5 separate regions of the Homo sapiens genome follow, and all the other regions are linked to region 1. Evidence: promoter capture Hi-C in 16 types of primary human blood cells and fetal thymus (Javierre and others, 2016). All regions are on one chromosome and are shown on one strand. The core of a region is centred on a gene start or on the middle of the fragment in contact, and the rest is flanking DNA. Distances in the headings are between cores, read along the strand shown.

Region 1 (3,918 bases), core at 400-2,899:
GGTAAGTGTATTGGTTAAAGACAAGTAAAAAAATAATTTTTTTCTGTAGATAATATATTCATTAGTTTAATGTAGTTAATTTTAATTAATAATTTAAGAATTAAAAAGGTACTTTGGAGTCATGTATTTTCTGTGACTAAAGTCAGATACAATAATGAATAATACTAAAAAAGTGACCTAATCTAACATCCATAAATAGTGGAGGGAACTTAAGCTAGAATTCAGGTCTCCTGACTTTCAGGTGAGGAGTCTTTTCTTATTCTCCTATTCTATAGTCATCTAGGTAAAACAACTGCATTCCAAGGCACAACAAATCCATACTACAGTATTCTCCAACTGTCACTATTCTTATATTATAAATCCTGCCTGCTTATCAGTGAAGAAAAAAAAAAAGTCAATGGCATTAAAATGTAACACAAATCTCGGCTTCGATACTTTATCTAAAATTACTTTCTCAAAGACATACTTTCTAAAATGTTTGGAAAATTAAACAAAATTCTCCTCTCCCCATCCAACTAATGCTCAATTCTAACCACACTTCTGCTTTCCCTACAGCTTAAGTAATTTCACTGGGAGTATTTTCTCTGGAAGTTCTTAAGTGTACTTGTGGGCCCCTTTTTTTCCTCCTTAAACTTCTAATATCTTTCAGGCTGTAAATTCCTTAAGGGCGCCTAGCCCCAAAAAAGTGCTGCATATTTGTTCAATAAATGAATGCACATAAAAACAATGGATAACTATGACCTTTAATGTAGGAGCTCAAGCCATTTTATTATTATCTGACTTGACAGTCAAGAAAATTATCCCAACTTGCCAGAGGTATCCATTACTGTGATAAATAAACACTATAAAACGCTTTATAAAGTTTCTAAAGACTTTATAATCACTTGAAATAACGCCGCGTTGGCCGAGAGTAGGGTGAAAGAAAATGTTTCCTCACACTAAGCAAATGCCACCAAAGGAAAAGCTTTCTTTCCTGGAGAGAACTGCAACAGTTAGAAAGCAAATATCCACACTCTCCACTGCTCCCTTCTGGGAACTCTCTTTGAGGGTTCCTGCAGAAAACGAACGGGCCTCTGAGGAAGCTCGCCCGAAGGCCGGGCCGGGGCCCGGCTCCTGGCTGACCACTGGCGCAGCGGACGCCGCAGGGCGGGTCCCGGGAGCGGCGAGTTGGCGAGGCGGGCTCCGACTTGCTGACCTTCCCCACACGCCCGGCAACCCCGGCTCCCGCTGGCGGGCAGAGTCCACGCCTACCTGTTGTGCACAGGTGAAGCCAGACTTTCCCGTAGTCCAGGAGGAAGAACGGACCACGCTGTTTATCAGCCGACCCTGTGCCCCAGTCAGCCCCTTCTCGGCGGACTCCAGCCCTTAGGGTCAAGACACCTAGCCCCTCGACCGGTTCTCCCACCGGCTTCTTTCGCGATCACATTGCTGCCGCGACCACCCTCGGGATCCCCGAGCGCTCAACTCATACAGCGGCCCTGGTGCGTTCTCCTTCCCAGCCAACAGGCAGCCCAGACACAGCCCCCTCGCGCCCGGAGGTGTCCCCGCTCCCTGGATCCCCGACTGCCTGCCTTTGGGGGTCCTCCTCAGCTGAGCGTGCGTCCCGGTCCAGCAACGTTACCGGCTGCTCTGCTAACCCTAGCAGAGTCTGGAATTGCCGGCGGCGGCGACAGCGAGGCATTGAGGTGGGCGGGGCGCGCGTGGGGCGTGGCCGGAAAGCTCTCAGCGGCGAGCACCGCGGGAGCTAGCGATTGGGAGCGCGCCCTGCGCCGGGCCGCTGGTCCAAGGCCCCGCCAGCTGGCCGCCGAGCCATCGAGCGCCCACTCTGGCAGGCGTGACTGCTTCACCGTCGAAAGAGCGATGGAGACTGCGGCCCAAGTTAGGATTAGGACAGCGGTTTTTCAGTCCGGAGATTCCGGCCACAACTATTTTTGTCTGTTTTTATCGTAAGCCAGAGTCTTTGGGTGCAGCTCTGGGACACCTAAAGGGCCTGGAGAAATTCAGGCGGGGCCAGTGCTGTGGGGGTAGATGTTAGACGTGGAAGGGACCCTAGAGAGCCTTGACTGTGAGGACTGAGGTAAAGTGACTTGCTCAAGGTCACATACTAAGTCAATGGCAGAACTGAGACTAATAGCCTCTTACCTTGAGTCATGTGCGTTTTCCCACTACACTCAGCGTTTTAAATGTCATTTTTCAAGTTTCATTTTGAATCTATCTCCAGCTTACAAAAAGGTTGCAAGTATAGTACAAAGAACTTTTTTTCCCTGAATTGAGATTTAAATTGCTGACACCATGCCACATTGTCCCTAAGCACCTTCTACATAATCACAATATAACCATCAAAATCAAAACATTTACATAACTCGGCGTTTTACCAATTGTCCCAATAATATTGTTTATGGTAAAAGATTCCGTTCAGAATCAGGCATTGTATTTACTTATCATGTATCTTTCCTACTCTTCAAACTGGAACTCTCAGTCTTGCCTTGCCTTTCATATTCTTGACGCTGTTAAAGATTCCTGGCCAGTTATTTTTGTAGAATGGCCTTCATTTTGGGTCTGTCTGATATTTACTCATGATTACATTTAGCTAGGTATGACAGGACTCTAGAAGTGTTGCTGCTTTCTTCTCATGGCACCCTATCAGGTGGCACGATTTTAACTTCTCTCATTACAGATGTTTACTTTAATAAGGTGATGTCTGTTAGGCTTGTCCAGTGTGGTTACTTTTTTCCCCCCTTTGTAAATTAATAAGTATTTTGTGAGGGAGACTCTGAAACTCTCCTTTCAAGATATTTGTAAATATCTTGTTTCTCATCAAATCTTCAGTTAATGTATTTATATTAATTAGTATGGATCCAGAGGTTTCTATTTTGTTAAATGACTTATAATCCGTTTCTTTCTCTCTTTTCTCTCTCTCTTTTTTTTTTTTTTTTTCTTGAGACAGGGCCTCCTTTGTTGCCCAGGCCGGAGTGCAGTGGCTATTCACAGGTCGATAATGCAATCATGGTGCACACTACAGCCTTGAACTTCTGGGCTCATGTGATCCTTCTGCCTCAGCCTCCCAGGTAAGTAGCTGAGACTGCAGGCATGCACACCACCACACCAGCCAATATTCTGTCTCTATCATTATTTATTTTGATGCTCAATTATCCCAAGTTTGGTGGGTAGGGGCCCCATTCATTCTATCTTCTGTGATATGTGTGTGTGTGTGTGTGTGTGTGTGTGTGTGTGTGTTCAATTTTTTTTTAAGACAAGAAGACAAGGTCTCATATTCATTCTAGCTTCTGTGTTGTGTGTGTGTGTGTGTGTGTGTAATTTTTTTTTTTTTGAGACAAGAAGACAAGGTCTCACTCTGTCACCCAGGCTGGAGTGCAGTAGTCTGATCACAGCTCACTGCAGGCTCAACCTCCTAGGCTCAGGTGATTCTCCCACCTCAGCCACTCAAGTAGCAGGGACAATGGGTGTGCCACTGTGCCTGGCTAATTTTGTTTGTTTGTTTTTGTTTTTGTAGAGACAGGGTTTCACCATTTTGCCCAGGCTGGTCTCGAACTCCTGGGCCCAAGCGATCCACCCGCCTCAGCCTCCCAAAGTGCTGGGATTACAGGTGTGACCCACTGTACCCAGCCTTAAATTCTCTCTCTCTTTTTTTTTTTTTTTTTTGAGACGGAGTCTCGCTCTGTCACCCAGGCTGGAGTGCAGTGGTGTGATCTTGGCTCACTGCAGCCTCCGCCTCCCGGGTTCAAGCAATTCACTGGCCTCAGCTCCTGAGTAGCTGGGATTACAGGCGTGTGCCACCATACCTGGCAAATTTTTGTATTTTTAGTAGAGACGGGGTTTCACTGTGTTGCTCAGGCTGGTCTCAAACTCCTGACCTCATGATCAGCCCGCCTCGGCCTCCCAAAGTGCTGAGATTAC
Region 2 (3,918 bases), core at 709-3,208, 770 kb after region 1:
TCTCAGTAGAGCATTTAGATACATATTTAATATTCTGACAATTAAAAATTATTTTGCTGCTGTCCCTGACTTCTGTATATGGACAAATTATACCCATAGATCATATACCCACCAGTCCAGGACCCAGAAAAAAATTTGCAACACTTAGAGAAACTTTTTCAAAATAGTTATGTTCCAAAGCAACAGTAATAGATTGTTTAGTGTTTGTGGATGTTTGTCTCATGTTAGGACATTATAAAGGAGAGGATCAGTTGGTGAAGAAGGGTGAATCAGTAGTAATTGTTTGATGACATGTTTGCCGAAAACTTCCCAGAGAGAGTTCTAATATATCATTTAAAGTTTCAATTCAGTAAACATTTATTAAACACCTGCTGTGTGCAAAGACCCTCAGAAAACCAAAAGACAAGTAGCAGTCAGCCTCTAATCTCATACTTCCAATTAGAAGAACAAGATTAATAGAGAAATGACTAGATATGTACGTAAGGTAAGTAGAAAAGTACAAAATGTTTATGTGGATGACACTGTTTATGACAGAATAATAGCTTTAATTTTTCACAATGAACATTTTAATCAAAGTTTAACACATATGTAGAAAAGTGCACAAATTAGAAGTATATAGCTTGATGAATTATTGAAGAATAAACACACCAGTATAACTACCACACAGTTAAATAGATTGAATATCACAATTCCAGAAGCCCACCATATGCCTAGTCATTTTCTACACTCCTTATTAAAAGATAATGGCTATTCTGTTTTCCAACACAGTAGACTAGTTTTGCCTAGTTTTGCACAGTAGACTAGTTTTGGAACTTCATAAAAATGAGGCAGAGTAGACTCTTTTGTGTTTGGCTTCTTTCACTCAACGTTATGTTTGTGTGATTCATCTATGTTGTTGTGGCTCTGAATACATATTTCTTAATTAATTTATTCTCTTGTTGAAGACAAGATATTTGGGTTTTTAGGAACAATGCTTCTATGCATAATCATGTGTAGATACACACGTGGGTTGCTGGATCACAGAGTATGTGTACGTTCAGCTTTAACAGATACTGACAAATAGTTTTCAAAATGGTTGCATCAATTTATACTCTCACTGGAATTGTATGAAAATTAGAATACTCCACATCTCTGCCAACCCTGGGTGCCAGCCTTTTAAGATAGTTTTAATATGCATTTCACTGATGACCAATAACAATGAGACTTTTTCATATGTGTATTGGCCATTTGGATATCTTCTTCTGTAAAGTGCCTGTTCAGGTGTTTTGCCCATTTTTCAGTTGTCTTTTTCTTATTGATTTGCTGGAATTCTTTATATATGAGCCCTTTGTTGGTTATATGTATTGCAAATATCTTCTACTCATGAGTTTACCTTTTCATTTTCTTAATGGTGATGTTTTTGGGATGAACATAAATCCCCAATTTTAGCGTAGCTAATCTTTTCCTTATCAATAGTTAATACTTTTTGCTTCCAGTCTAAGAAAACCTTCTCTACTTCAAAGTCAGTAACATACTTTCTTATGTTATTATTCTCTAGAAGCTTTATTATCTTACCTTTTATATTTAGATACACATTCTATCTGGAAATAATTTTCAGGTATGGCATGAGGTAGAAATTAAGATTTCTGCAAACAGATACAGTTGAGTCAATATTGTTTATTGTTTGTTTGTTTGTTTGTTTGTTTGTTTGGAGATGGAGTCTTGCTCTGTCATGCAGGCTGCAGTGCAGTGGCCCAATCTTGGCTCACTGCAACCTCTGCCTCCCGGGTTCAAGTGATTCTCCTGCCTCAGCCTCCTGAGTAGCTAGGATTACAGTGGTTTTTGTATTTTTAGTAGAAACGGGGTTTCACCATGTTGGCCGGGCTGGTCTTGAACTCCTGACCTCAGGCGATCCGTCCAACTTGGCCTCCCATAGTGCTGGGATTACAGGCATGAGCCACCACGTCTGGCTGCCAATATTGTTTACTGAAGCGATTGCCCTTTCCCCATTGCCCTTCAGTGCTACCTTGTCATAAATCAGGTGCCCTTTTGGTTCTATTAATCTATTTGTCCATCTTTTGTGCCAATACCAGATAGTCTTAATAAATAATGTATAGCTTTTTGACAGGCAAAGGAAAGAGGGAGAGGTAGCCCAGGGAGGTGTAACTACAGCAAGAGAAAGAGTAGATTTCCCCTGCCATACAGTCTCCATCCCACCTCCTTGGCCTCCTCAGGAACCTGCCTCCATCAATGATCTCCCCTCATCCCTGAATCTTCACTCTGTGCTCTACTCTTTGCCATCAACATATAAACATGTCCAAGTTTCTGTAATGAAAAAAACAAAAAAAGGCTCTTTTACTTTATATCTGCTTCTGCAGCTTTCATTTCCTTTATGGCCAAGCTTATTGAAAGAATGATTTCATTTTCACTTCCTGTCTCCCATTAACTTAACATCTCACCTCTATGATTTGCACCTGCAGCTTGTACTTCCACCCACTCCCCCAGTCAAGGTCATCAATATATATTTTTTTAGTTATTATCTTGTTTTCTCACTCTTCCAATATGGTCTCCTTTGCTGGCTAGAATTACTCCATGCTCTGGTGGCACAGGTAGGAGTTGAAGTTAGTAACTGTCCTCTATTCATCTTGACCTAGGTAGTTAGATAAGTGCTTGTTATCACTTCACAAATGTTTTAGAAGAAAACATAGAGGATTATCTTTATGGCATTAGAATGCAACAATACAATTTTTCTTTTAATTTTATAGAGGTGAGGTTTCACCATGTTGGCCAGGCTGGTCTAAAACTCCTGACCTCAGGTGATCCTCCTGCCTCTGCATCCCAAAGTGCTGGGATTACAGGCATGAATCACCGTGCCTGGCCTTTTTTTTTTTTTTTTTTTTTTTTTTTTTTTTGAGGGAGTCTCGTTCTGTTGCCCAGGCTGGAGTGCAGCAGTGCGATCTCTGTTCACTGCAAGCTCCGCAGGTTCAACCTCCTGAGTAGCTGACTACAGGCATGTGCACCAGGCCTGGCTAATTTTTTGTATCATTACTAGAGACAGGGTTTCACCGTGATGGCCAGGCTGGTTTCCTGACCTCAAGCAATCAACCTTCCTTGACCTCCTATAGTGCTGGATTACAGGTGTGAGCCAAAGTGCCCAGCCAGGAATAATGTTTAGATAAGAAAAAATATTGGCTGGATGCGGTGGCTCACCCCTATAATCCCAGCACTTTTGGAGGCCAAGGCGAGTGTATTACTTGAGCTCAGGAGTTCGAGACCAGCCTGGCCTATATGGTGAAACCTCGTCTCTACTAAAAATACAAAAATTGGCTGGGTGTGGTGGAGCATGCCCGTAATCTCAGCCACTTGGAAGGCTGAAGTGGGAGAATCACTTGAATCCGAGAAGTGGAGGTTGCAGTGAGCCGAGATCACACCACTGCCCTCCAGCCTGGGTGATAGAGTGAGACTCCATCTCAAAAAAGAAAAAGAAAAAAAAAAGAAGAAGAAAAAGAAAAAAATACTATACAATCCATAAAGAAAACTAACAAATTTGACTATATTCAAATATATATTTGTACACAAGATACCACAAACAAGGTTAAAAGATGAGACTCAAAAACACAGGGAGAAGATGTTAGTAACCAACATAACCTAGAAAGAATTAGTATTACAGAATACATAAATAATTCTTGAAAATCAATAAGAAAATGATAACCAAAAAGGAAAATTACAAAAGTTTATGAAAAGGCAACTGACAGTAAATCTGTGGAAAAAATGGTTGTTCTCCTGAGTAATCATGGAAATGCAAATAAAAATCATAATGGAATACTGTTTCATACCAATCAGACTGGCACAAACTTTAGAATATGATAACATTAAGGATTACCAAGTAAATCAACAGGAATTCTCATATATTGCTTGTGGTCGTGTGAACTGGAATAA
Region 3 (3,918 bases), core at 964-3,463, 680 kb after region 1:
GTGATGAGCCCCGAAGGATCACTTGAACCCAAGAGTTTGAGATTGCAGTGAACTGTGACTGCACCACTGCATTCTGGTCTGTGCAACAGAGCGAGACCCTGTCTCGAAAACAAAGAAAAATGAGTTTAGGTTTTAGTCTTTATCCTGAGAGCTCTGAGTGAAATTGGCTTTCTGTGAAATTAAGATAATTTCTAAGATAGGAAAACCACAATGTCTACTGCAGGCAAGATTTGTATCTTGTTTATAGTTGATCTCCATGGCCTAGCACAGTACTCTGTGTCATAGTGTGATCAGTTGAAGTCAGCATAAATGTATGGCCTTTGTTTTTGTAAAAGAACTGTTCATGTGTTTAACTACAATTTATTTTGACTCAGGAAAACTCATTTTATTCAACAAGCATTTTGGTAAATGCCTACTGTGCCTGAACACTGTTAGAAACTAATATGGGGATGACTTGGTCATTCATTGGCTCTGCTTTCAAGAAATTCAGTCTAATAAAATTGATTTTGCTGAAAATTAAATATGTTTTATATTTTCAACAAGTTTAGCCAGACTTCTGGTTCTTTCTCATATTTCATCTCATCTGGAAAGAATTTACTTAGGCTTTCTTCAGTACCATTTCTATTGCTTTCTTCCTGGGTAACTGGCTAAATTGATCTACCTGGTTAACTAGATCTGTGATGTTTCTATAATTTCTCATAAAGTTAAAATTTGTTTCTTCAGCATTTTTGGTGCTGGCTACACCAATTTATGATAACATAAGTGTGGATATGTAGTGCAAGTATTTCTGGCAGTATTTTACTATTTGCCATTTCTTTGAATTCTGTGTTGTCCATTTGATCATGATTTATTGCTTTTCAAATTCAGATTGAAATGTAATTAGATGGTTAATTTTTAAAGTATATTTCTGATTTATATATTTTGTTAAGACTTAATTGGAAAGATTATGTCAGTGGCATACATTTTCGCTAATTTAAATTTGGCTTTCTATACAAACTTTTTCTTAGTGTTTATAGCAGCGTACTGAATATTTTGTAAAAGCATAGTACAGATTATTGAAGTTACTCATTTCTGCAGCAGATTAATAGTAAATGTTAAGTATGTGTCAAGGAGGCACTTCTGTAACATAGATAATTGTGTTCTTATGTTAATGGACAGTTGTTACTATTGCAAGACTATAGGTAAATTTATAGGTTTGCCAATTTATGTACACCAAAATTTTGTATACTACAAATTGTGTCAATCCTAGGAGAGGTTTTTTACAGTAGATGCAGTGTTATGATTTCTTGCTCTGTAATGTTTTCCTGTCATCTCAGCTAAAGTGTGGATGGAGTACTCAAGTAAATAGGGCTTAATCTGTGACTTTTAAAGAAGAGAAACCCCAGAGCATAGGAGGGTTGCTTTTTAAAAATAGTAGTAATTTTTGATGTTTAGAATCCTTACAACAAAATATAAGGATATGACAAAAGAGATCTTATGATTGTATCGTAGTCAAAATAAAGGGTACAACTTGCATACATTGTATAACAATTGTTTTGAACTTTTTGGAAATTGTTCTTAGCCTTTGAAAATCTGAGTCAAGGTTTGGGTATTTTCCCTAGAAAAATGCACATGCACAAAATTTTACTGGAGTTTTAACGGTTTCAAATACTTTCTAAAGGCCTGTGGATCCCAGTTTAAGAAACTCCTTGTATAAGATGAGAGGGAGGAGGAAGACACTGAAATTTGGGGAAGCTGGGTAGAAATCCACCCATTCACTTGAATAGTTAGTTGCTTTGCTAGAACTTTCTCCAAGTGACTCCAGGTTTATTTTTTGTTAAGTTGTTAATGGCATTAATAAAATATCTGCCACATATATAATATATGTTGAAATGCTTTTTAGGAAGATGTTATCTTAGAGAATAAAGGTTCCTGAGTCAAGGTTAAAATTAGTTTGCCTGATAAGTATGTACAAAAACCTAGACCACATTTATTTACTCTGTTGTTTTTTATTTCCTCTTTTCACCTAGTGTTAGCATAAAGGGTGTGAGAGAGTCTTCACAATGTAAGTTTTCTGAAGTGTGTTTGGACTTTCAGCCAGCACTTACGGCTTTTATAGGCTTAAAAAAGGGATTAAATAAACCTTTAGAGTGCTGGGTCCCCTGAAGGCTTCTTTCTTACACCAGTGTGTTAAACTATAATGTAATGCTGCTTCTCACTGCCTGATCACTTTATATTGTAGTTTAATTTTGTTTTTCTATGTTATAACCTTTCTGAGGGCAGTTATGGTTATCATTCAACTTTGTATAACCTGCAGTATTGTTTCTCAGTCTTGAGTCGTGTATGGACCTTTTTTAAAGTTAAAATTCTCAGGCTTTTCAGAAATATATCTGTAGCTATTTCCCAAACTTGAGTTATTGGTCTTTGTTTTTACTAGTCTAGCACAGTGGCTATCAACCAGGGTCAGTTTGGCCCTCCAGGAAGCATATGGCAATGTCTAGAGACATTTTTGGGTGTCACAACTGGAAGTAGGAGGTTGCTGCTGGCATCTAGTGGGTAGAAGCCAGGGTTACTGCTAAACATTGAATTGCTAAACTGAATTGCAGAATTCACAGGCCATCTTCCACAACAAAGGATTATACAGCCCAAAGTGCCAATAATCTTGAAGTTGAGAAACCCTGGTGTAGGAGACTATGTCTTGAAAAAAATGTCTATGCAGTTCTAGAAGTCAGTCATACAAGGCATGTTTGTATCTGTTCAATAAGAAAGGTAGGGTTTTCCATATAGGTCATAGCGTTTTCTTCCCCAGCCTCACCGTGATTGGGTAAGAATATATTTTCAGGATTATGTTAACTGTGGGCCAGAGCTACATGCTATTGTCATTTATCATACTCGACTGTTTATCATTCATTATTCTGCTATAAAATGTGTTGCTTCCGTTCCATTTTCATACTAGTTGAGGTTGTCATTATTTCTTACCTGCATTATCACAAATACCTTTTTTAAAGAAATAAAGATTCTATTTTGAGCTAATTGTTGATTCATATGCTATTGTTTTTTTTTTTAAAAAAAAGAGAGACCCCATGTGCTCTTTGCCCATTTTCCCACAATGGTAATATCCTGCAAAACTATAGTACAATATCACAGCCAGGGTGTTGACATTAATATGATCTACAGATCTTATTCAGATTTCCCCAGTTTTACTTGTACTAATTTGTACATGTGTATATTTTGTTCTTTGCAGTTTTTCATGTGTATAGGTTTGTGTGTCCCTCCCATAGTCAAGATGTAAAACAGTTCCATCCACTAGCAAATTAACTTGTTTTGTCTTTTTATAACTACATGCTTTTCCTTCTCCTCACCCATCCCTAACCACTGATAGCCACTACTCTGTTTTTCATTTCTATAATTTTGTCATTTCAAGGATGTTATATAAATGGAATCACAGGGCATATAACTTTCTGGGATTGACTTTCATTTACCATAATGCCCTTGAGATTCAGCCAAGTTGTTGCGTGCATCAACAGTTTGTTCTTTTTATTGCTGAATAATATTCCATAATATGGATACATCAGTGTTTTAACCTGTTGAAGGACATCAGGTCGTTCCAGTTTTTGTCCATCTTGAATAAAGTTGTCATGAACATTCGAATACAGGATAAGAAACTGCCAAACTGTTTTCCAGAATGGGTATACTATTTTATTTATTTATTTATTGAGATGGAGTCTCACTTTGTTGCCCAGGCTACAGTGCAGTGGCGCGATCTCAGCTCACTGCAACCTCTGCCTCCCAGGTTCAAGTAATTCTCTGCCTCAGCCTCCTGAGTATCTGGGATTACAGATGCCCACCACCACACCTGGCTAATTTTTGTATTTTTAGTAGAGACGGGCTTTCACCATCTTGGCCAGGCTGGTCTTGAACTCCTGACCTCGTGATCCA
Region 4 (3,918 bases), core at 515-3,014, 670 kb after region 1:
CCTTCTGTTTCCCATACAGAAATGAAAGAATTTAGAATGACTTGCACACCAAGGCCTCAGGGAAATAACATGTTATCAGAGTAGGGTGTACATTAAATAATAGGGTAGAAGTTAATGTGTTTGGGAATAGTTTTGGTCATTGGTTTTTCACATATTTTCAGCAGTGAAGTTTTTTTCAAACAAATTGAAATATCAGAAGATAAAAATGGTTAAAAGCAGAATTACCTTTGCTGCGTGGGTTTGCGGAGCTCCCAGAGTACTGCCTACTTGGACCCTCCTTGAAGTACTACACACCTTTAGACTTACTGTTTATATACCCCTATTGTGTGTTAATGATCACATTATAGTCCTGGGGAAAAAAACTGGACTTTTTATGTTAGTATATTTTGCTGTACTAGATGTAATGGGCCCAAAGCAGTACATAATTTTTGTTAATTGTGTTTACAAGTGTGACTTCAGGATTACCCAGCGGTTTGGAAGCTGATTATTCTTAGTCTGGAGATTGAGTCATTTATTCATGAAATATTTACTGAGCCCTCACTGTGTATCAGGCACTGTTGCTGGAGATTTGATTCCAAAACAAAATCCCAATGCTTCTACGTTATTTAGTCACCACGTAAATTGTTCAAATTTTTAATAGGTTGGTTCTCTCTTCATTTGCCTGATTATATTCTTGTTTCAAGACTAATTCATAGGAATAATGACTTTTTAGGGCTCATTTCACATACAAATTGTGTGCTTTCTGGTATAAACTGTGGTTCAAAGATGAAGTATTATTTCGAGTCCAGGACTTTGAGACCACAACATAGTGAGACTCTCTACAAAAAAATTTAAAAATCACCTATGTGTGGTGGTGCACATCTGTAGTCGCAGCTGCTTAGAAGGCTGAGGAAGGAGGATCATTTGAGCCCAGGTGTTTGAGGCTGCAGTAAGCTATGATCCTGCCACTGTACTCTAGAATGGGTGACAGTGACACCCTATTTAAAAAAAAAGACAGATTATGGGATATGAGTTACTCTCCTACAGGTATTACATTGTTGAATTACTTAGCTATTTTATGTGTGTTAGAATGACTTTTTGATTTCTTCTCACTTTTCACAGCATTGATAAATTTACCAGAAATAGCAACATTAAGAAAAGGCAGGCTGGGAGGTGGCTCACGTCTGTAATACCCATACCTTGGGAGGCTGATGGAAGAGGATTGCTTGAGCCCAGGAGTTTGAGACCAGCCTGGGGAGCATAAGGAGAACCCCTCTCTACAAAAATAATTTTTAAATATTAGCTGGGTGTGGTGGTGCATGCCTAGAGTCCCAGCTAGACAGGAGGCTGAGATGAGAGGATCACCTGAGCGCAGGAGTTCGAGGCTGCAGTGAGCTATGATCATGCCACTGCATTCCAGCCTAGATGACAGATTAGGAGACCTATCTCAAAAACAAACAAAAAACAGTAAAGTAATGCATCAGTACTACACTCTGTTCATCTTTTTGTTGTTGTTTTCTATTGCTGCTGAACAAATTATTCATCTTTTAGTGTGCAGTTGTTTTTTTATTCTTCAGCTGCTTGCAAAAAGTTTGCCTAAGATTGTAGAATATATGATAATCTTTGGGCTTTGTTCTTGTTTCTTTTGAATATTTGTTTACATAAGGGATAGTTATTTGATTTAAAGAAGATAGAGCATGTAATTACAAAGTTCCCTCTGTGTGATTAGGTCTTGGAAATATAATTTCTTATCATAAATTTTGTGATTTTACTAAAGTCTTTAAACAGCCAAAAATTTTGAATTAACTATATTTGGGGTTGTACTCAACTTCACTTTTGAAAAAAAATTTTTTTAAGATGTCATAAAATTAGATTGTTATGCTGGCTAAGTACATTATTATAGATTGTAGTTAGCTTTCATTCTCATGGTTTCATTTTTGACTAAATATTTGAGTTTAAATTAGGATTTATGCATTTAATTAGTAGCTGTTATGTGGGAGGCACTGTTGTAGGCTTTTGATATACTGGTGAAATAAAGATTTGTGCCTTGTGACTCTTTTATTAAGAGTGGGATGCGGAGAGGGATAGAGTTAATGACATAAATAAGGTGTATAGTAAGTTAGGAAGGTAAAGAGTTAGCAGTGGGGATCTTTGGGGATATTGTGAAAAGTTAAGTGCAAAGAACATGCCTTAGCATGTTGTCTTCCTCCAGTGTGATTGAAGCAGAATGAGAAAGGTAGAATAGTATTAGGGGAGGCCAGAGAGGTGAGAGAGGGTTGGAGAAGATCTTGTAAGCCATTGACAGGACTTGCTTTTTATTTTTAGCAGTACTCGAGAGTTTTAAACAAAAGAATGGGAAGCTCTGATTTATGTTTTAAAAGGAGCACTCTGGCTGCTCTGATATGAATAGACTGGGAAAAGGGAGCAGAAGTGAAGCAGAGGAGTTAGTTTAGAAGACTTTGGAGTAATCTTGGGCCAGAGATATTGATGGGTGAGAGCAGTAAAAGTAGAAAAAACTGAAAAGTTAAGGATATATTTTAAAGATAGGACCATTAGGAATTTCCTGACATGGTATAATTTAAAAGCATAAAATATTTTTAAATATATACCTTTTATTAATGAATGCATCAATTTTGTGAAAAGGTACATGTTTTAGTTCTGATTTATTGAGATTTTATTTTTTTAGATTCCTTGTAGAACTTTTTTTTTCTTGATTTGCAAAGGAGGATGCAGTGTTTGAATGGTCTAGTAAAATACCTTAGAAAACTTAGTTGTGAACATAGTTTTGTTTTGACACAATTTTAATTTCTATAAGGATATAGATAATTTCTATAAGATTATCCTAAAGACAATCTTAAAGGCAGAATGAGAGACTGCATTGCAAGCTATTAAAAGCAGCACTATTGCTTAAAAAAGTAAAAGATTGGGAATGAAGAGATTTTCCTTCTAACCTTATAATTTCTAGTAGGTTATTGCTACTTTTGTCTTGGTTTCTTCATCAGTAAAAATAAACATGGTGCTAGATATCATAAGAACAAGTTGCATGAAAGTAAGCCTACATCAAAAATAGATGTGCATGATTGACATAGATATTAAGACTGAAAGGAATTTTTAAGTTAACTCAAACAGCCTTCATATCATTGAAGACACTGGGCATTAGTTTATTAGTGGGAGCATGAAAAAAAACAATAAATTTTTTTTGTTCTTAGCACTGAAAAAAAAAATTGCTTGGCTAATAGAGGACAGTTTTGATCTGGTTGTAAGGGGCCAATGGATAATTTGTATATATATATGAACTATCTCAGTGTTTGAAATGAAGTTCCCTTAAAACCTGTTAGAGCCAACTTCATGAGATCTTTTGTCCATTGAGGTGGTAATACCATACTCATCCAAACAAATAGCCAAACCCTTTTGAGGGCAAGGTGACAACAGTTTTTTTTTTTCTATTTTGGGGTTTCTCAAACTATTCCCCCGCCCGCCCTCCCCCGCTTTTTTTTTTTTCAAACCAAAGCCTCTTGAATTAAGTAAACCTATAAATCAGATAAGGAAGGCACTCCTCTGGTGAGAGTTGGAAGGATTCTTCCAACACCCTTCCCACATCTAGGTGGAAGAATTTTTCTGTCACAGTTTGAAAATCACTATATGGTGACTCATGACATAAGCTCTGGAGTTGATTTCAAAATACCAGCAGGTGGTCTGCCTAACAGCCTTGTTAGAAGAATAAGGATGTTCCTCCCTGTATCTAATGGGCATTTTACTGTGAATTGTTGTGGAAACCATAGAAGTCATGTGAAATTACCTTATTTTTAAACTTGAACATTTAAGATTCATATTGCCACTGTCAAATTAATTAGGATGTGTTGAAGCCTTAGTATTAAATTTTAGCCTCATTATAGTTTTATTTCTGTCAAAAAGCTTTCCAGTTTTCAGTGACCAATG
Region 5 (3,918 bases), core at 376-2,875, 630 kb after region 1:
GTCACAGAGCAAAGAGGAATATTTCAAGGGAGGTAAATATATATACAATTTTCTGACGGTACAACAAGTTCACTTTGTGGTTTTCCTCATTGATTTAGAACTATGTATTTTTTGCATCAGTGGCCTTCCTTCTCATTTATAACTTGTGACTTCATTTGTGTGACTCATTTCATTAAGTTTGTCTCCATGAACACTAACCACCCAATATGCCATACTGTGAGCATTTTTCTCTAAGATATAAATCAGCAATTCTTAACCTGTGCTTTTAACATCCAGTGGTATATTAATATAAATCAAGGGGTATCTTTAGTTTTTTAAAAACAAGCTCAAAATAGCTTTAAACTTCAAGATACTATTGAAAATTAGAACGAATTATTATGCAAAAACTTGATTTTTTTTGCCTTTTTAAATTTTTTTTATTTCATGCAGGATTTTGTTTTTTGTTTCTTAAGATGAACAAAAACTTGATTTTTAAGATTGGAAATACCATATACTTGAAACATTCTTAGTTACAGGTGCAACTACCCGATTGAGGAAATCCATTGCTAAGCAAACAACGGAATTGCCTTAATGATATAATTTAAGTTATATCTGCTTCCATCTTTGGATTCCCATTTCCTTCTCCCAAATGCATGATATTTGGAAGCACTTTGTTGATATTACAAATTTATAAATAAAGTAGACTTTGCTTCTTACATGTCACCATTGAGATGTTTAGGCTCTATAGATTGTTATTTAAAAATTTGGCTTACTTCAGCCAAATAAAATCATAGGTGTATGAAATGCTTAATTTTACATGTGAGGAAAAAAAGCCCACCAAATTCAAATAAATTATTTGAGTTTTCCCAACTTGTTAGCAACAGAGTTTTACCTAGAACCCTAGGCTTCTTTACGCCAGTGTTGTATTTTTTTCAGCTACACTAGACTATCAAATTGACAAAGCTTCATATACATTAGAATGAAGTGGTTGAGGCAAAGGAATGGTAAATTGAGAATTCACAATTTGGGGTAAGGTCAAAGTATGATCTGAGGATCGCCTTTGTTAATCACATGGATGCTTTCTGAAAATGTAGATTCCTAGACTCTTCCTAGGTTCCCAGACAGATTGAATCTCAATCTCCATGGGTGGGACCCAGGAATATGCCATTTAAACAAGTTCTCTAGATAACTTTTATGTACACTAAGGTTTACATTCCATAGGCCAATGATATCCTATATATTCCTCTAGAATGTTATTTAATATGTTTTAAACTGAGGTGTTAACATTTTCCCATTTGGGGAATTTGTACTGTTTTGCACTAGATTCTAAGGACTGGTACAGAGGAGACCTATGGTGAAAGTGAAGGGCATTGAATCTGGGTTCCATTCCAGGCTAACCTTGCTATGTGGGCCTGGGCAACTTACTTACTGAACACTCTAAGTCTTCAATTTTTCTTCTTCGAAATAACTATAATGCCACCCTTGCAGAACTGCTGAGAGATCATAGAAATAAAATACTGTGCAGGCACTGGGCCTGGCCTATTAAAAGCATGCAACTACTAATTACTGTCATTACCTAAGCTAACATAACTATTATTTTCCTCTTCCCTTACCTTGTAAAGTGGAAATACACTGAATTCCTCATTGTTTCAGACCTAGCAACTATTTGTGGATTATTCCTATCTTTCGCTCCTCCTCCTCACCTCTGTGGCTTCCTGCCTACCTCTTGGCCATTTCATTGTTCATTAGTCACCTCCACCAGAAGGAGGAAAGAGAAAATAAGAAATGCAACTCAAAACATCCATTTTCTTCATATGTTATTACTCTTAGTAAAAGATTTGATTTGAAGTGATGTGGCTGAATCACTGGCCAAAATAACATTTTTGTGTTTTCTAAGAGTTTAATTTACCTATTTTTTAGACAGTTTCCATTCCGGCTCTTATAATGAAATATCCTTGCTTAAAAACAGTGATTTTAATCAACACTGCATAAGAAAAGGATATACTAAATGAATCATTTTGAATCTTGTTTCCTTCCTCAATTTTTAGGGGAACTGAGAAGATTTGGTTGAATAAAGCTCATTAAGATCCTACAGAGATGGAATCTGAGTATGAAGTAGGTCAAATTCAGTCTCCCTGATAGTGCCCTTCAGGCATTGCCAACGTGGGCTTCTCGCTCAGCAGAGGTGGGTTGTGTGTGGATGGATTCCTAGACTGCAGCATGGGCTCTAACCTAATGAGAAGGTGCCTACACAGGGCCTGCAGCCAGAAGTCCTGATTTTCACGTAAAATGCCCTCAGTTCCTTCAAATCTTCAGATTTTTCCTCAGGTAAAGCTTTGTATCCTAGGTGCTTGGTATTAGGCATCTGCTTGTTGGAAAGTAAGAGAGCCACATCCGCAACTGCAAGAGTTGGGAGACTCCAGCGGCAGTAACAACCCAGGGGATCACACAAAGGTGAGCGTGACAAGAGGAGAATTTTTTTTCCCCTCTGGCACCCTGGTGTGGCAGGAGGGTACGGGTAGGGACTGGGGGCTGTCTAGAGGCCTGGTCTTTTCTCCTCCCCACTCTTCACCTGTTGCCAATCCTAGGTCCTGGAAGAATGCCTGACACGCATCCTCAGGTTGACTGACAATCTGATGTGTGGCATGACCAATGCAATAGAATAGCAGCTTCCTGAGGGCAGGTGTTTTTGGCTGCTTTATTCACTGCATTTGGAACTGGGTCTGTCCTGGAGTAGGTACCCAGTAAATATTTACTGAATAAATAGATGAAGTAAACATCAGGGTTAAAAGATACTCATTGAAAGAAAGGAAGAAGAGGGGACAAACTGAAAGAGGGAAATCAAATCATGGAATGATTATTGGCTTGATTGAGCCAATCTGATTATCTGAAGAAAATGCCCTTTTCAGATAAAAGAAGATACTTCTTTGGGCAAAGGCATATGAGATTCCTGCTATGGCTACACCCTCCAAACAAGGTGTTAGGGTCTACCCCGGTAGTATTAATGCTAGTCTATTTGAAAAGTAATGATAATGATAATGATGGTGAGTAATAAAAATAGCAACAGGAGCAACTAACAGTTACATGGCACTTACACCATGTGGATTATCTTCCCCAATCCATTTGTGAAACTTAATGAATGATAATAGAAGTGTAATGGCACTTTGCCACAGCAATGTGAAACTTGATATACTGTGGTATCAAGGGCATTCAGTCACAGGAATATGTTCTTGCAAACAGGTCTTAAGGGCAGTGGGCTAGTATGGTTTCCCTAAACAGACACTGTGTGTATGTGCACATGCAAATGCTTTTGTGTGTGTGTATATACATATGCAGATAAATGCACACAGCCTATTCAAAATCATTTTGGTAATAACTTTGATTCTGGGAGTTGGGTGCTAGGTAAAGCTAAGTGTAATTTTTGCTCCAATGCCACATCCTTTTATTCAAATCATAGTTTTCTTGGAAGTTTCCAAAACCGCTAATGCAAATGACATATTCATCTGTAGAAATTTCCCTTTTAGGAGGATGGCAATATGCCAACAAAGGTGAAATATAAAGCATATTTTTAAAAAGAGCTTTAACTAGTCCTGCATTTTATAGATCTGCTTTGTGACCCTTATTTTATCATGTCCATTTGCTGCTTTAGTACTTTGGCTCTTGAAGGCAATTTATTTAAATTCAGTGAAGGCAAACTGGAATGAATGGAACCATTAAATTGTAGTGTCCTTGAACATGTTCTCTGTGGAAAGGCCTTGGACTTTGGAGGAAGACAGACTTGGGTGGTTTAGATTTCACCTTAGCTAGTGATCACATATATGACCACAGATCACTTTCTTAACAATCAGATTTCTCCTCTTCAAAATAGAGAAATAAATAACTTCTTGGGGTTGTTGTGAGGATCAACTGAAATAATATATGTATAAATGCTTAGCATAA

What was found. The method cuts DNA at HindIII sites, captures the fragments that hold promoters and counts their contacts. A CHiCAGO score of 5 or more calls a contact.
Region 2: a contact is called between a fragment that was not itself captured here and the fragment with the promoter of HEATR5A in region 1, in 2 of 17 cell types (naive B cells and total B cells). The highest score is 6.2, in naive B cells.
Region 3: a contact is called between a fragment that was not itself captured here and the fragment with the promoter of HEATR5A in region 1, in 1 of 17 cell types (activated CD4 T cells). The highest score is 5.6, in activated CD4 T cells.
Region 4: a fragment that was not itself captured here is called in contact with the fragment with the promoter of HEATR5A in region 1 in 1 of 17 cell types (total B cells); the score reaches 5.7 in total B cells.
Region 5: a contact is called between a fragment that was not itself captured here and the fragment with the promoter of HEATR5A in region 1, in 1 of 17 cell types (total B cells). The highest score is 5.4, in total B cells.

What each region holds. Positions count from the first base shown.
Region 1 is chr14:31,418,901-31,422,818 of GRCh38, forward strand. It overlaps HEATR5A (HEAT repeat containing 5A), which reads right to left and starts at 1,650. Exons shown (of 36, transcript NM_015473.4): 1 at 1,572-1,650. It overlaps HEATR5A-DT (HEATR5A divergent transcript), which reads left to right and starts at 1,858. Exons shown (of 4, transcript NR_110045.1): 1 at 1,858-2,077; 2 at 2,944-3,068. RefSeq lists a silencer at 1,111-1,230 and enhancers at 1,341-1,390, 1,821-1,970. The HindIII fragment of the contact is 6,619 bases long and covers 963-3,918 here.
Region 2 is chr14:32,184,057-32,187,974 of GRCh38, forward strand. No RefSeq gene overlaps it. Among named protein-coding and RNA genes, the nearest start is that of RNU6-7, 16 kb to the right of the region's middle. The HindIII fragment of the contact is 840 bases long and covers 1,539-2,378 here.
Region 3 is chr14:32,102,445-32,106,362 of GRCh38, forward strand. All of the region lies in intron 2 of ARHGAP5 (Rho GTPase activating protein 5), which reads left to right. Among named protein-coding and RNA genes, the nearest start is that of ARHGAP5, 27 kb to the left of the region's middle. The HindIII fragment of the contact is 5,331 bases long and covers 1-3,918 here.
Region 4 is chr14:32,084,023-32,087,940 of GRCh38, forward strand. The region is part of intron 1 of ARHGAP5 (Rho GTPase activating protein 5); the gene reads left to right. Among named protein-coding and RNA genes, the nearest start is that of ARHGAP5, 8.7 kb to the left of the region's middle. The HindIII fragment of the contact is 4,255 bases long and covers 1-3,892 here.
Region 5 is chr14:32,047,850-32,051,767 of GRCh38, forward strand. LOC105370440 (a long non-coding RNA gene) reads left to right here. Exons shown (of 4, transcript XR_943727.2): 2 at 1-32; 3 at 2,028-2,433. Among named protein-coding and RNA genes, the nearest start is that of ARHGAP5-AS1, 27 kb to the right of the region's middle. The HindIII fragment of the contact is 1,371 bases long and covers 941-2,311 here.